Regions from separate parts of the Homo sapiens genome. Here all the other regions are linked to region 3. Evidence: promoter capture Hi-C in human tissues and cell types (Jung and others, 2019). All regions are on one chromosome and are shown on one strand. The core of a region is centred on a gene start or on the middle of the fragment in contact, and the rest is flanking DNA. Distances in the headings are between cores, read along the strand shown. Region 1 overlaps RFWD3 (ring finger and WD repeat domain 3). Region 2 overlaps MLKL (mixed lineage kinase domain like pseudokinase). Region 3 holds the start of LDHD (lactate dehydrogenase D).

Evidence for each region. The method cuts DNA at HindIII sites, captures the fragments that hold promoters and counts their contacts. A contact is called where the count stands out against the background at its distance.
Region 1: a contact is called between a fragment that was not itself captured here and the fragment with the promoter of LDHD in region 3, in 2 of the 25 tissues and cell types used here (dorsolateral prefrontal cortex and hippocampus).
Region 2: a contact is called between a fragment that was not itself captured here and the fragment with the promoter of LDHD in region 3, in 1 of the 25 tissues and cell types used here (dorsolateral prefrontal cortex).

Annotation. Positions count from the first base shown.
Region 1 is chr16:74,659,604-74,663,532 of GRCh38, reverse strand. RFWD3 (ring finger and WD repeat domain 3) reads left to right here. Exons shown (of 13, transcript NM_018124.4): 2 at 2,082-2,601. The coding sequence starts at 2,084. Among named protein-coding and RNA genes, the nearest start is that of RFWD3, 5.3 kb to the left of the region's middle. The HindIII fragment of the contact is 6,343 bases long and covers 1-3,929 here.
Region 2 is chr16:74,682,540-74,686,490 of GRCh38, reverse strand. MLKL (mixed lineage kinase domain like pseudokinase) reads left to right here. Exons shown (of 11, transcript NM_152649.4): 5 at 908-1,005; 6 at 3,705-3,840. Among named protein-coding and RNA genes, the nearest start is that of MLKL, 16 kb to the left of the region's middle. The HindIII fragment of the contact is 5,809 bases long and covers 1-3,951 here.
Region 3 is chr16:75,115,234-75,119,169 of GRCh38, reverse strand. It overlaps LDHD (lactate dehydrogenase D), which reads left to right and starts at 2,390. Exons shown (of 11, transcript NM_194436.3): 1 at 2,390-2,521; 2 at 3,510-3,622; 3 at 3,831-3,936. The coding sequence starts at 2,450. It also overlaps a transcript of ZFP1 not described here. RefSeq lists an enhancer at 2,865-3,159. The HindIII fragment of the contact is 8,282 bases long and covers 1-3,936 here.

The DNA.
Region 1 (3,929 bases), core at 868-3,367, 460 kb after region 3:
ATTCAGCCTGCACCAGTCTGGCCTCTGACCCCACCACTTCAGGGAAACTGCTTTTTTAGGTCACCTGTCATCCTCATGTTGCCAAATCTAGCGGCCGTTCTTCCCCCCAGTAGCACTTGACACTCAATTGTTCCTTCCTTGAAACATTGTTTTTCCAAGACACCACATTCCCATGTTTCCTCCTACTTTATAATCTTCCTTAACTGGCTTCTTTTACTCTGTTGTACTTTTAACAGTAGTGTCTCTGACTTTAGTCTTCAGCCCTCTTCTGTCATTCTGTTCCTCAGGTGGTTTAATCTGCTTTGATGATTTTAAGAAACATGAGTATTGGCCGGGCGCGGTGGCTCATGCCTATAATCCGAGCACTTTGGGAGGCTGAGGCTGGCAGATCACCAGGTCAGGGGATCGAGACCATCCTGGCTAACACAGTGAAACCCCGGCTGTACTAAAAATACAAAAAATTAGCCAGGCGTGGTGGCAGGCACCTGTAATCCCAGCTACTCGGGAGGCTGAGGCAGGAGAATGGCGTGAACCCGGGAGGCGGAGCTTGCAGTGAGCCGAGATCGCGCCACTGCACTCCAGCCTGGGCAACAGAGCGAGACTCCATCTCAAAAAAAAAAAAAAAGAAGCATGACCATTCTGAAGATTCTTAAAGCTGTCTGTTTGTTTTCATCTCCACTGCTACCACTCTTGCCTAGGTCTCTCTGACCTCTGGTCTGGACTCCCACAATAGCCTCTACACTGGTCACCTAGCTTATGCTCTTGCACCCCTACAGTGCATTCCTAACATAGAAGAAACTCCTTACCAAGGCCCATAGGCCCTTTAATAATGGTGTCCTGTTCATCAGTGAAACCCATGCTCATCAGGGACCTATGCACTGATTTCCTTCTGAGACTCTTCTTGGCTCTTTGCATAGCCAGCTGCTTTTAATCCTTCATGCCTCAGCCCAATTTTCACTCTTTAAAAGAGTACTTCCCTCACAATTGTGTCTTAGTTGGTCCTCTTTGTCTCCTCAACCCCAAACATCATAATCTATAATTTTTTTCATGTATTTGTTTATTGACATCTTACTTGCTAGAATCTAAACTCTGATACATGGGGTCTTATCTGTTTTTGCCTCTAGGGTGTCTTGTCTGCATAACAGGTGCTTAATAACTATTAGTTGAACCCCCATTTCCTCATAAGTCAGATGAAAATAAAAGCACGTGCCTTACTTCACAAAGTAATTAAGGGGATAAGTTATACTGATGTACTTTAAAAACTAGGTGGTAGGGAGGCACAGTGGCTCAGTCCTGTTGTCCTGATGCATGAGGAGGTAAGGCCAGGCATTCAAGACCAGTTTGGGCAACATAGGAAGCCTTCATCTATATAACAAAAAAAAATTTTTTTTTTTAGTTTAAAAACTAGGTGGTAGTTTTCAAACTGATACAATGGAATTAAAGATAGGAAACATGAAAAGAACATAGGTGCTTAATAAATATTTGTTGAATACGCTAACATGATGGAATTAGAGATGGAAAACAAAAATAATGAAAGGGATAGGATAAAGTTTGCTCAGCCTTTTTGGAAACATTAGGTAAGTTTCCATTTTGAGTTAGTAACAGTTAATTTTGCAAGTGTAAAAAATGTCCTTTCTCTATTTATCCCTTGTAACTGTTGATGCTGTGAAAGATTAATATTGCCTGCTAAAATTAGATACTGCATTATATGCATTTGATTTTGGTGAATGTCCATATTCAGCTTGAGAGAACTGCAAAGTGTCTGAGAGATTACTTTTAGACCCAGTAGTTTAATCTCCTTGGTTTATAGATCTTTCTATTTTGGAAGATACTACTATGATCACAGGACTTCATGTTTTCTAAGGGCAAACCGGAAAACTGGTTATAAATGCTTGTTATAGAGAGGAAAGTCCATTACCAAACACTTCTGACTTAAGTAGTTAAAATCTTCTCTTGAAGCTTCTCAGTCTTGCTAAGAATGATATTAAACATAAAATCAGAAAGATTAAATATGATTCTGTCACCTACATAGCATGTTTTATCTATTTTATTAATACTTTTTACAAATACTGTTTCTCTAGTGATGGCTCATGAAGCAATGGAATATGATGTTCAGGTGCAGTTAAATCATGCCGAACAACAGCCAGCTCCTGCTGGCATGGCCAGCAGCCAAGGGGGACCAGCCCTCCTCCAGCCTGTTCCTGCTGATGTGGTCAGCAGCCAGGGGGTACCATCCATCCTCCAGCCAGCTCCTGCTGAGGTGATCAGCAGCCAAGCGACACCACCCCTGCTCCAGCCTGCTCCGCAACTGTCTGTTGACCTGACAGAAGTGGAGGTCTTGGGAGAAGACACTGTGGAGAACATCAATCCAAGAACTTCAGAACAACATAGGCAGGGATCTGATGGTAATCACACCATCCCAGCATCTTCGTTGCATTCAATGACCAACTTCATCAGCGGACTGCAGAGACTTCATGGCATGCTGGAATTCCTGAGACCTTCATCTTCAAACCACAGTGTAGGGCCAATGAGAACAAGAAGGAGGGTATCTGCTTCACGGAGGGCAAGAGCCGGAGGGTCTCAGAGGACAGACAGTGCCAGGTAAATAAATATATGGATAAGTCTGTGATCATTGCTGTACTAGAAATTATGAAACTGAGGCTCTGCCATTCAAGGACTGACAGTGTGACTTTTGGCAAGTCAGGTAACTTCTGACCCCCAGTTCCTCATAGGTGGAAATAAAAGTGCTTGCCTTACTTCACAAAGTAATGAAGGGATAAGTTAAACTGTTGTGCCTTGAAAACTAGGTGGTAGTTTGTTGGCAATCTCTGTAGAGATTGGCTGTTGTTCAGATTGTGTCTTGTACACCAAAAATTCTTTCTTCACTTGCAAGTCTCTACTCACCCAAATTCATTATTCACTGGCATTCCACCTGGGGGCACAATTAATTAATTTTCTTTCATAGTCTTGGTTTGAACTTGCCTCTTGAAGGGCTTAGCTGTCAAGTCTTGACAGGGTTATTATGAAGAATAACAATTGCCTATACCCTGTCCGTTTTTTGGTTTTTTGTTTTTGTTTTTGAGACAGCGTCTCACTCTGTCGTCCAGGCTGGATTCCCGTGGCACAATCTTTGCTCACTGCAACCTCCATCTCCCAGATTCAAGCGATTCTCCTGCCTCAGCTTCCCCAGTACCTGGCATTACAGGCGCGTGCCACCACACCTAACTAATTAAACCTGTCTGTTTTTGGTTTTGTTTTGTTTTGAGATGGAGTCTCACTCTGTCGCCCAGGCTGGAGCGCAGTGGTGCGATCTCCGCTCAGAGAGGGCTTTGTTCAGGGTCTCATAACTATAGAATAGAGGAGTTAGCACTGATATTGGAGCCTGGATCTGCCCTGTTTTCTACATAGGCAGATGGAGGAAGCTTCGACGAAATCCCTTTGTTTTCTCTTTCTTCTTGTTTTTATTATTGTTATTTTTGAGACAGGGTCTCACTGTGCTCCCCAGGCTGGAGTGCAGTGGTGCAATCACAGCTCACTGCAGCCTCGACCTCCCCAGGCTTAGGCGATCTTCCTACCTCAGCCTCTTGATGATTAACTGGGACTACAGGCATACGCAACCATGCCGATGTTTTCTAACACTGTGAAAATATTGAGATGATACTAAAAAGTGGTAGCTAGGTCATCTATTACCCATGTTTTACAAATGAGGAAGCTGATGGGATAATTTGTGATTTGGTTGTGATAAGGCTGGAATTGGAATTGTGCCTTCTGTATCTGGATTCAGCATTCTTTTTCATGGATCCTGCTGATTTTAATGTTGGGGCTTGCCATGACTGTGGCTCCAGTGTCTGTAGTGCCCATCAAGGATGACAGATGCCTAGTTCTGTGTTGACAAGAGTTGCAAATGCATATTACTCTGGGTTTTTTTT
Region 2 (3,951 bases), core at 415-2,914, 430 kb after region 3:
CTGCCTCAGCCTCCCAAGTAGCTGGGGCTACAGGCGCCCGCCACCACACCCAGCTAATTTTTTTGTATTTTTAGTAGAGACGGGGTTTCACCATGTTCGGCAGGATTGTCTCGAACTCCTGACCTTGTGATCCACCTGCCTCGGCCTCCCAAAGTGCTGGGATTACAGGCATGAGCCACCACGCCCGGCCTAGTATCATTATTTTTATTCATCAAAGACACACACCACGGGCTGGGCACGGTGACTCACACCTGAAATCCCAGCACTTTGGGAGGCGTAGGCAGGCAAATCACTTGAGGCCAGGAGTTTGACACCAGCCTGGCCAACATGGTGAAATCATGTCTCTGCAAAAAAAATACAAAAATTAGCCAAGCATGGTGGCACGCACCTGTAGTTCCAGCTACTCAGGTGGCTGAGGCATGAGAATTGCTTCAACCTGGGAGGTGGAGGCTGCAGTGAGCCAAGATCGCACCACTGCACTCCAGCCTGGGTGACAAAGCAAGACCCTGTCTCCAAAAAAAAAAAAAAGACACACACCACAATCTGTCAGAGTATATGCTAAACAACAGGTTACAGCCTAAAAACAGTAACAAATACTTGACTTTTTAGTTTGCCTAGTAAAGCCCTGTAGGTCATAAAAATACAATTCTATCAGACTATTTGAACTACTGAAAAGATATTAGCAAGTCCCATTAATATCTGACAGACCCCGAGGGACTAATTGTGCTGCCACAGGCACCTGAGGGGTTCCACATGTTGTTATCAGTAGCTGAGTTCATCCTGGCACCAGTTCTCACCCCAGATGCTGATACCCCCGCCCCCACATACACAGAGGGTCACCACACTGAATGTTCTCTAAGGAACCTTCCAGTTCTGAAATCCTGATTTCTCTCTTTAATCCTTATAGAATAGTGAGGCAGACTTTCAATAAGGAGATCAAAACCATGAAGAAATTCGAATCTCCCAACATCCTGCGTATATTTGGGATTTGCATTGATGAAACAGGTAAGGAATGCTTCTAGGATTGGTCAAGCTTTGGATGGCCTAGAACACACCTCCTGTGTTTTAATGTGTTGCATTTTTTTAAAGAACATCACAAAGGGTGGAATCCACAAAGTGTGATTATTATCAATGTTAATTTTTTTTTTTTCATCCCAAGATGCATGTTCTCATCTTCTTTCAGGAGGGCAGGGCTGAAGGCTGAGGGGTGGTTTGCACTAACATGGCCACATCTTCTCCTTTCAGCCCACTGGGAAATAAGGGGGTGCATGTTTAGATGCCAGCCTGGAAGAGGGGTGCATCTTGTTGCTCTAAAACATTATAAAGCTGCCAGGTGCAGTGGCTCACACCTGTAATCCCAGCACTTTGGTAAGCCGAGACAGGCAGGTCACTTGAGGTCAGGAGTTCAAGACCAGCCCAGCCAACATGGTGAAACCCCATCTCTACTAAAATACAAAAATTAGCTGGGTCTGGTGGCAGGCATCTGTAGTCCCAGCTACTCGGGAGGCTGAGGTGGGAGAATTGCTTGAACCTGGGAAGCGGAGGTTGCAGTGAGCTGAGGGTGCACCATTGCATTCCAGCCTGGGCAACAGAGCAAGACTCCGTCTCAAAAATAAAAATAAATTATAAAGCTGTCTGACCCAAAGAAGGAAAACACCCTTGGTCATCATTAGTATAGAACAAATCTAAAAGCAAAATTAACTTACCTGGCCAGGCGCTGTGGCTCAGCAGCACTTAGGGAGGCTGAGGTGGGTGGATCACAAGGTCAGGAGCTTGAGACCGTCCTGGCCAACATGATGAAACCCCGTCTCTACTAAAAATACAAAAAATTAGCCGGATGTGGTGGCACATGCCTCTAGTCCCAGCTACTCGGGAGGCTGAGGCAGGAGAATTGCTTGAACCTGGGAGGCGGAGTTTGCAGTGAGCCGAGATCATGCCACTGCACTCCAGCCTGGGTGACAGAGTGAGACTCTGTCTCAAACAAACAAAAAAAAAAACCATTACTTTACCCCTCTACCAAGAGCCTTATGTGACAGGCTCTTTTTTTTTTTTTTTTTTTCTTTTTTTCCCAATGTGACTGCATTTTCTCTCATGGAATGACCCCTCCTGCTGGTCATGTTTTGCTGCCGTCTTGCCTAGAGATTGGACAGAGCAACTCCTGTCTTATCCCCTTTGGAAGTTGCTCCACAGCCTCAGGCCAACTTGATTTCAGAGTGTGGAATCCCAATCTAAAGGGAAACGTAGGCCAGGCACGGTGGCTCACATCTGTAATCCCAGCACTTTGGGAGGCCAAGGTAGGTGGATCACCTGAGGTCAGGAGTTTGAGACCAGCCTGGCCAACATGATAAAACCCTGTCTCTACTAAAAATATAAAAATTAACTGGGCGTGGTGGTGGGTGCCTGTAGTCCCAGCTACTCGGGAGGCTGAGGCAGGAGAATTGCGTGAACCTGGGAGGCGGAGGTTGCAGTGAGCCAATATCATGCCACTGCACTCCAGCCTGGGTGACAGAGCTAGACTCTGTCTCAAAAAAATTAAAAAATAAAAAATAAAGACAAATGTTCAGCAACGTTTGTTCTCCTTGGGGACCGCTGAGGTGCCTGGCTCAGTCACATGTCAGTTTTGCAGCTCAGGCCCATGAATGGGGAAGTCGACTTCTTGTCTGAGTCCTCACCCGCCCCTGCCATGTGTGCCCTACTCATTCCTCCCACACAGATGTACGAAGCTTCTTGTGAGCACCCATGTGAACAAGACAGACACATTTCCTGCCTTCTTGGGAATCCAGTTGAGTGAGGAAGACATTCGCCAAATAACTGCTCAAGAAAATTTTGAATTATACCAAGAAAGGGAGATAGAAGTTAAAAAAGAAAAAGAAAAAGAATTTTTTTTTTTTTTTTTTGAGACAGAGTCTCATTCTGTCACTCAGGCTGGAGTGCGGTGGTACAATATGCTTACTGCAGCTTCCACCTCCGAGGTTCAAGCAATTCTCCTGCCTCAGCCTCCCTAATAGCTGGGACTACAGGCATGTCCCACCACACCTGGCTAATTTTTGCATTTTTCATAGAGACGAGGTTTCATCATGTTGGCCAGGCTGGTCTCGAACTCCTGGCCTCAAGTGATCCACCAGCCTCAGCCTCCCAAAGAGCCAGGATTACAGGCGTGAGTCACCACACCTGGCAGAACATTTTTTTTTTTTTTTTGAGATGTAGTGTCACTCTGTTGCCCAGGCTGGAGTGCAGTGGTGCAATCTCTGCCACGCAGCTTCAAGTGATTCTCCTGCCTCAGCCTCCCAAGTAGATGGGATTACACGCACCTGCCACCACACCCAGCTAATTTTTGTATTTTTAGTAGAGACATGGTTTCACCACGTAGGCCAGGCTGATCTCAAACTCCTGACCTTGTGTTCCACCCACATTGGTCTCCCAAAGTGCTGGGATTACAGGCATGAGCCAACGCACCCAGCCAATTTTTTTTTTAAGGTAGAATTACGACAAGCCAAGTATTATGGAGAAGAGGATGGGAATTCTGGGCATATTTGGTCCATTCAAGGAGGCCGGGGACCAAAACTGTGGGCTGAGGATTGGGGGAGAAATGGGACTCAGCAGAGCCAAGTCTGTATCTGTACCGAGGCTGGGAGAGGTGGGCTGCAGACATGGGAAGCTTCAAGTAGGGCGGGTCCTCATAGTGTCTGGCTCCTTTCCACCAGTGACTCCGCCTCAATTCTCCATTGTCATGGAGTACTGTGAACTCGGGACCCTGAGGGAGCTGTTGGATAGGGAAAAAGACCTCACACTTGGCAAGCGCATGGTCCTAGTCCTGGGGGCAGCCCGAGGCCTATACCGGTAAGACGGGGTGAAAAGGCGCCACTAAGGGTTGGATGGGTCTGTCCACACTCCTGATACTCCCAGAGATGGTGAGAGAACAGGCCAGACGCCCCAGACAGTCTCCCTCCC
Region 3 (3,936 bases), core at 1,141-3,640:
CAGTTAATTTAGAAAGTTTATTTTGCCAATGATGATGGTGTGACACAGCCTCAGGAGATCCCAATGACATGTCCCCAAGGTGGTCAGAGCACAATTTAGTTTTATACATTTTGGGGAGACTTGAGACGTCACTCAACATACGTAAGATGAACATTGTTTGGGTCTGGAAAGACAGGGAGGGGGCTTCCCGGTCATAGGTAGATAAGAGACAAATGTTTGCATTCTTTTGAGTTTCTAATTATCCTCTCAAAAGGAGGCAATCAGATATGCATTTAGCTCAGTGATCAGAGGGGTGACTTTGAAAGAATGGGAGGCAGGTTTGCCTTAAGCAGTTCCCAGCTTGACTTTTCCCTTTAGCTTAGTAATTTTGGGGGCTCAAGATATTTCCCTTTCAGACCTCTTCAGTAGAATTCTTTCTTCTGATGAGGCAAGCATTGAGTTTTATGTAGACCTGTATGGATTTCCCACCACTCACATGAAGACCATGACCTGTGACACATTCCCTGGAGGTCCTGAGAACATGTACCCAAGGCAGTTGAGTTACAACTGGTTTTATACAGTTTAGGGAGGCATCAGACAGTAATCAATATAAGCAGGGTATGCATTGGTTCCTTCTGATTGAGGGAGGAGCTTACAGGTCATAGGTGAATTCAAAGACTTTTCTGATTGGCGCTGGGCACGGTGGCTCACACTTGTAATCCCAGCATTTTGGGGAGCCAAGGCGGGTGGATCACTTGAGGTCAGGAGTTCGAGACCAGCCTGGACCAACATGGTGAAACCCTGTCTCTATTAAAAATACAAAAATTAGCTGGGCATGGTGGCACTCCTGTAATCCCAGCTACTTGGGAGGCTGAGGCATGAGAACAGCTTGAACCCAGGAGATGGAGGTTGTAGTGAGCTGAGATCACGCCACTGCCTGAGCAACAGAGTGAGACTCCATCTCAAAAAAAAAAAAAAATTTCTGATTTTCAATTGGTTGAAAGAAGTTATTATCCAAAGACTTGGAATCTTGGTATACAACAACAAAATTTTTTTTAAATAAAAAATTTTAAAAAAGACAACCTGGAATCAATAGAAATAAGCATCTGGGTTAAGATAAGGAGTTGTGGAGACCAAGGTTCTTTTTTTTTGAGACAGAGTCTCGCTCTGTCGCCAGGCTGGAGTGCCGTGGTGCGATCTCAGCTCACTGCAACCTCCACCTCCTGGGTTCAAGCGATTCTCCTGCCTCAGCCTCCCAAGTAGCTGAGACTACAGGCGTGTACCACCATGCCCAGCTAATTTTTGTATTTTTAGTAGAAACGGGGTTTCACCATGTTGGCCAAGAGGGTCTCTATCTCTTGACCTCGTGATCCTCCCACTTTGGCCTCCCAAAGTGCTGGCATTACAGATGTGAGCCGCTGCACCCGGCCCAAGGTTCTTATTATGTAACATAGATGGTAAATGTCTAAGGCGTTAAAAGGTGCCAGACTCTTAGTTAAATCTCCCTTAGATCAGGATAAAACCTGGAAAGAGGCTGGACGCGGTGGCTCATGCCTGTAATCCCAGCACTTTGGGAGGCCAAGGCAGGTGGATCACGAGGTCAGGAGTTCAAGACCAGCCTGGCCAAGATGGTGAAACCCTGTCTCTACTAAAAATAGAAAAATTATCTGGGCACAGTGGCAGGCACCTGTAATCCCAGCTACTTGGGAGGCTGAGGCAGGAGAATCGCTTGAACCCAGTGGGTGGAGGTTGCAGCACGCTACTGCACTCCAGCCTGGGCCACAGAGTGACTCTGTCTCAAAACAAAACAAAACAAAACAAAAAACCTGGAAAGGGGAGGGGATTCTCTACAGATTCTAGATTTTCCCCACAAAAGACAGCTTTTTGGAGCTATTTAAAAAAAAAATCAGAGGAATATATTTTGGGGGTAAAATACATTGATTTCTTTCAGGGCCTGCTATCTGTCAGGTGATGCTAGAGTCAGGTTGGAATTTGGTATCTTATTGCTACAAAGAGTCTGTTTTGTGTCTTAAGATCAGAATGCCTTAAGGTCTCTGTTTTAATGTTAATGCTGGTCAGTTGTGTCTGAATTCTAAAGGAAGGAGGGGGATAATGAGGCTTGTCCTAAACCTCTTCCCATCACAGCCTGAATTAATTTTTCAGGTTTATTTTGGAATGCCCTGGGCTGAGAGGGAGGTCCATTCAGTCGGTTGGGAGGCTTAGAATTTTATTTTTGCCTTACAGTTTCCCAAAACGTCCAGTGAACCTCGCCTCTCCTTTAGAAGTGTCGTCCCTGGAGCCCACGAAAATGTCTGCAAGATCTGCAAGGGCCACCTTAAAGCCCGTGCCACCTTAAGCAGGCCCCACCCCTGGCCTAGCCAATGGGCTGACAGCAGCAGTAGCTGCTGCCACAGTAGCTGACTGGTCACCCTGCCACCCAGTGCTCACACCCTCTGGCCAGTGCCTGGCTATGGCCCGACTGCTCAGGTCTGCAACCTGGGAGCTGTTCCCCTGGAGGGGCTACTGCTCCCAGAAGGCAAAGGTACCGGGAGAGAAGAGAAGTCCTCTGGAGGGATGAGGTGGGGAGCGGGGAGCAGGGGGTTCTGATCCCAAGTTTCCTGGGCTCTGTGACGCCCCAGCACCAAGTGACCTGACCTTGGGCAAAAGGGCACTGGGCTTACCCTGTGGCAACTGTGGGTGGGTGTAGAGTGAGATCAGCTGAGTCCCCACTGCTACCATGAGTGGGGCTGGGGGAGTCAAATGGATGCCCCTGGAATAAAACACACCTGTGGAAGAAGGCCCTGAAGGAAAGGGCCTGGGTTCCAGGCCAGGCTCTGTCCTTAACTTGGCCTCCATTTCTCATCTGTAAAATGGGAAGAAACACATCCCCCGCCCCGCCGCGCCCCGCCCCCCACGAAGGGCCCAGAAGCCCCAGGCAACGTAGAGTGGGGAGGGGGCAGTGGAAGCTTTTCCTCCCCCTAATTCCCTTATCAAGCTCTGAGTTCCCTGTGGCTGGGGTGGTGCTTGGTTGGCCCTGGAGAAAGGAGGAAGTGAGGGATCTTTTCGGTTGCTCAGGCTGGGCTGGCTATTGAAGGAACCCTGCTGATAGCCTTTTTGGAGAGTGAATTCTGGTTTTTTATTTGGATGGCTGGGCGCTGTGGCTCACGCCTGTAACCCCAGCACTTTGGGAGGCCGAGGCAGGTGGATCGCTTGAGCCCAGGAGTTTGAAACCATCCTGGGCAACATAGTAAGACCCTGTTTTTATTAAAAAAGAAAACATTAAAAAAATTCTGGTGGCGTTTTTTTCTGAGGGGAAACTTTGACCCCCAATGGCTCTGTTTGGAAAAGAGGCATTTCTGGATAGTGGGTTTGTTTAAAGTGGGCCCACCTGGCAAGGATGTTGTCAGCGGGGCGGGCGCAGGGGAGGCTCACTCCAGCCTCCAGCCCCCAGCCCTCCCCCCGACACTGGGGCAGGGCTGTGGCCCCATGTGTCTTTCGGGGGACCCTGGCAGTGTGTTTCTTCCCTGCAGGGAGAGCTCTGCAGGGACTTCGTAGAGGCTCTGAAGGCCGTGGTGGGCGGCTCCCACGTGTCCACTGCCGCGGTGGTCCGAGAGCAGCACGGGCGCGATGAGTCGGTGCACAGGTATGGGAGGGTTCGCGGGCCCCTCCCCTGTCTTCTGGATTCAACCCCAGCTGAGAGAGAGGGTGCTGGGTTGCCTTCCTCCTCACTCATCTGTTTTGGGGTGCTCTGGCATGTTCTCTGCCCCTCGCTTGCTGTAGCCTCAGGCCCTGCAACACCTCGGGACCAGAGGGTGTCACGCCCCGCTAAATCGCTGAGGGTCTGGTTCTAGGTGCGAACCTCCTGATGCTGTGGTGTGGCCCCAGAACGTGGAGCAGGTCAGCCGGCTGGCAGCCCTGTGCTATCGCCAAGGTGTGCCCATCATCCCATTCGGCACC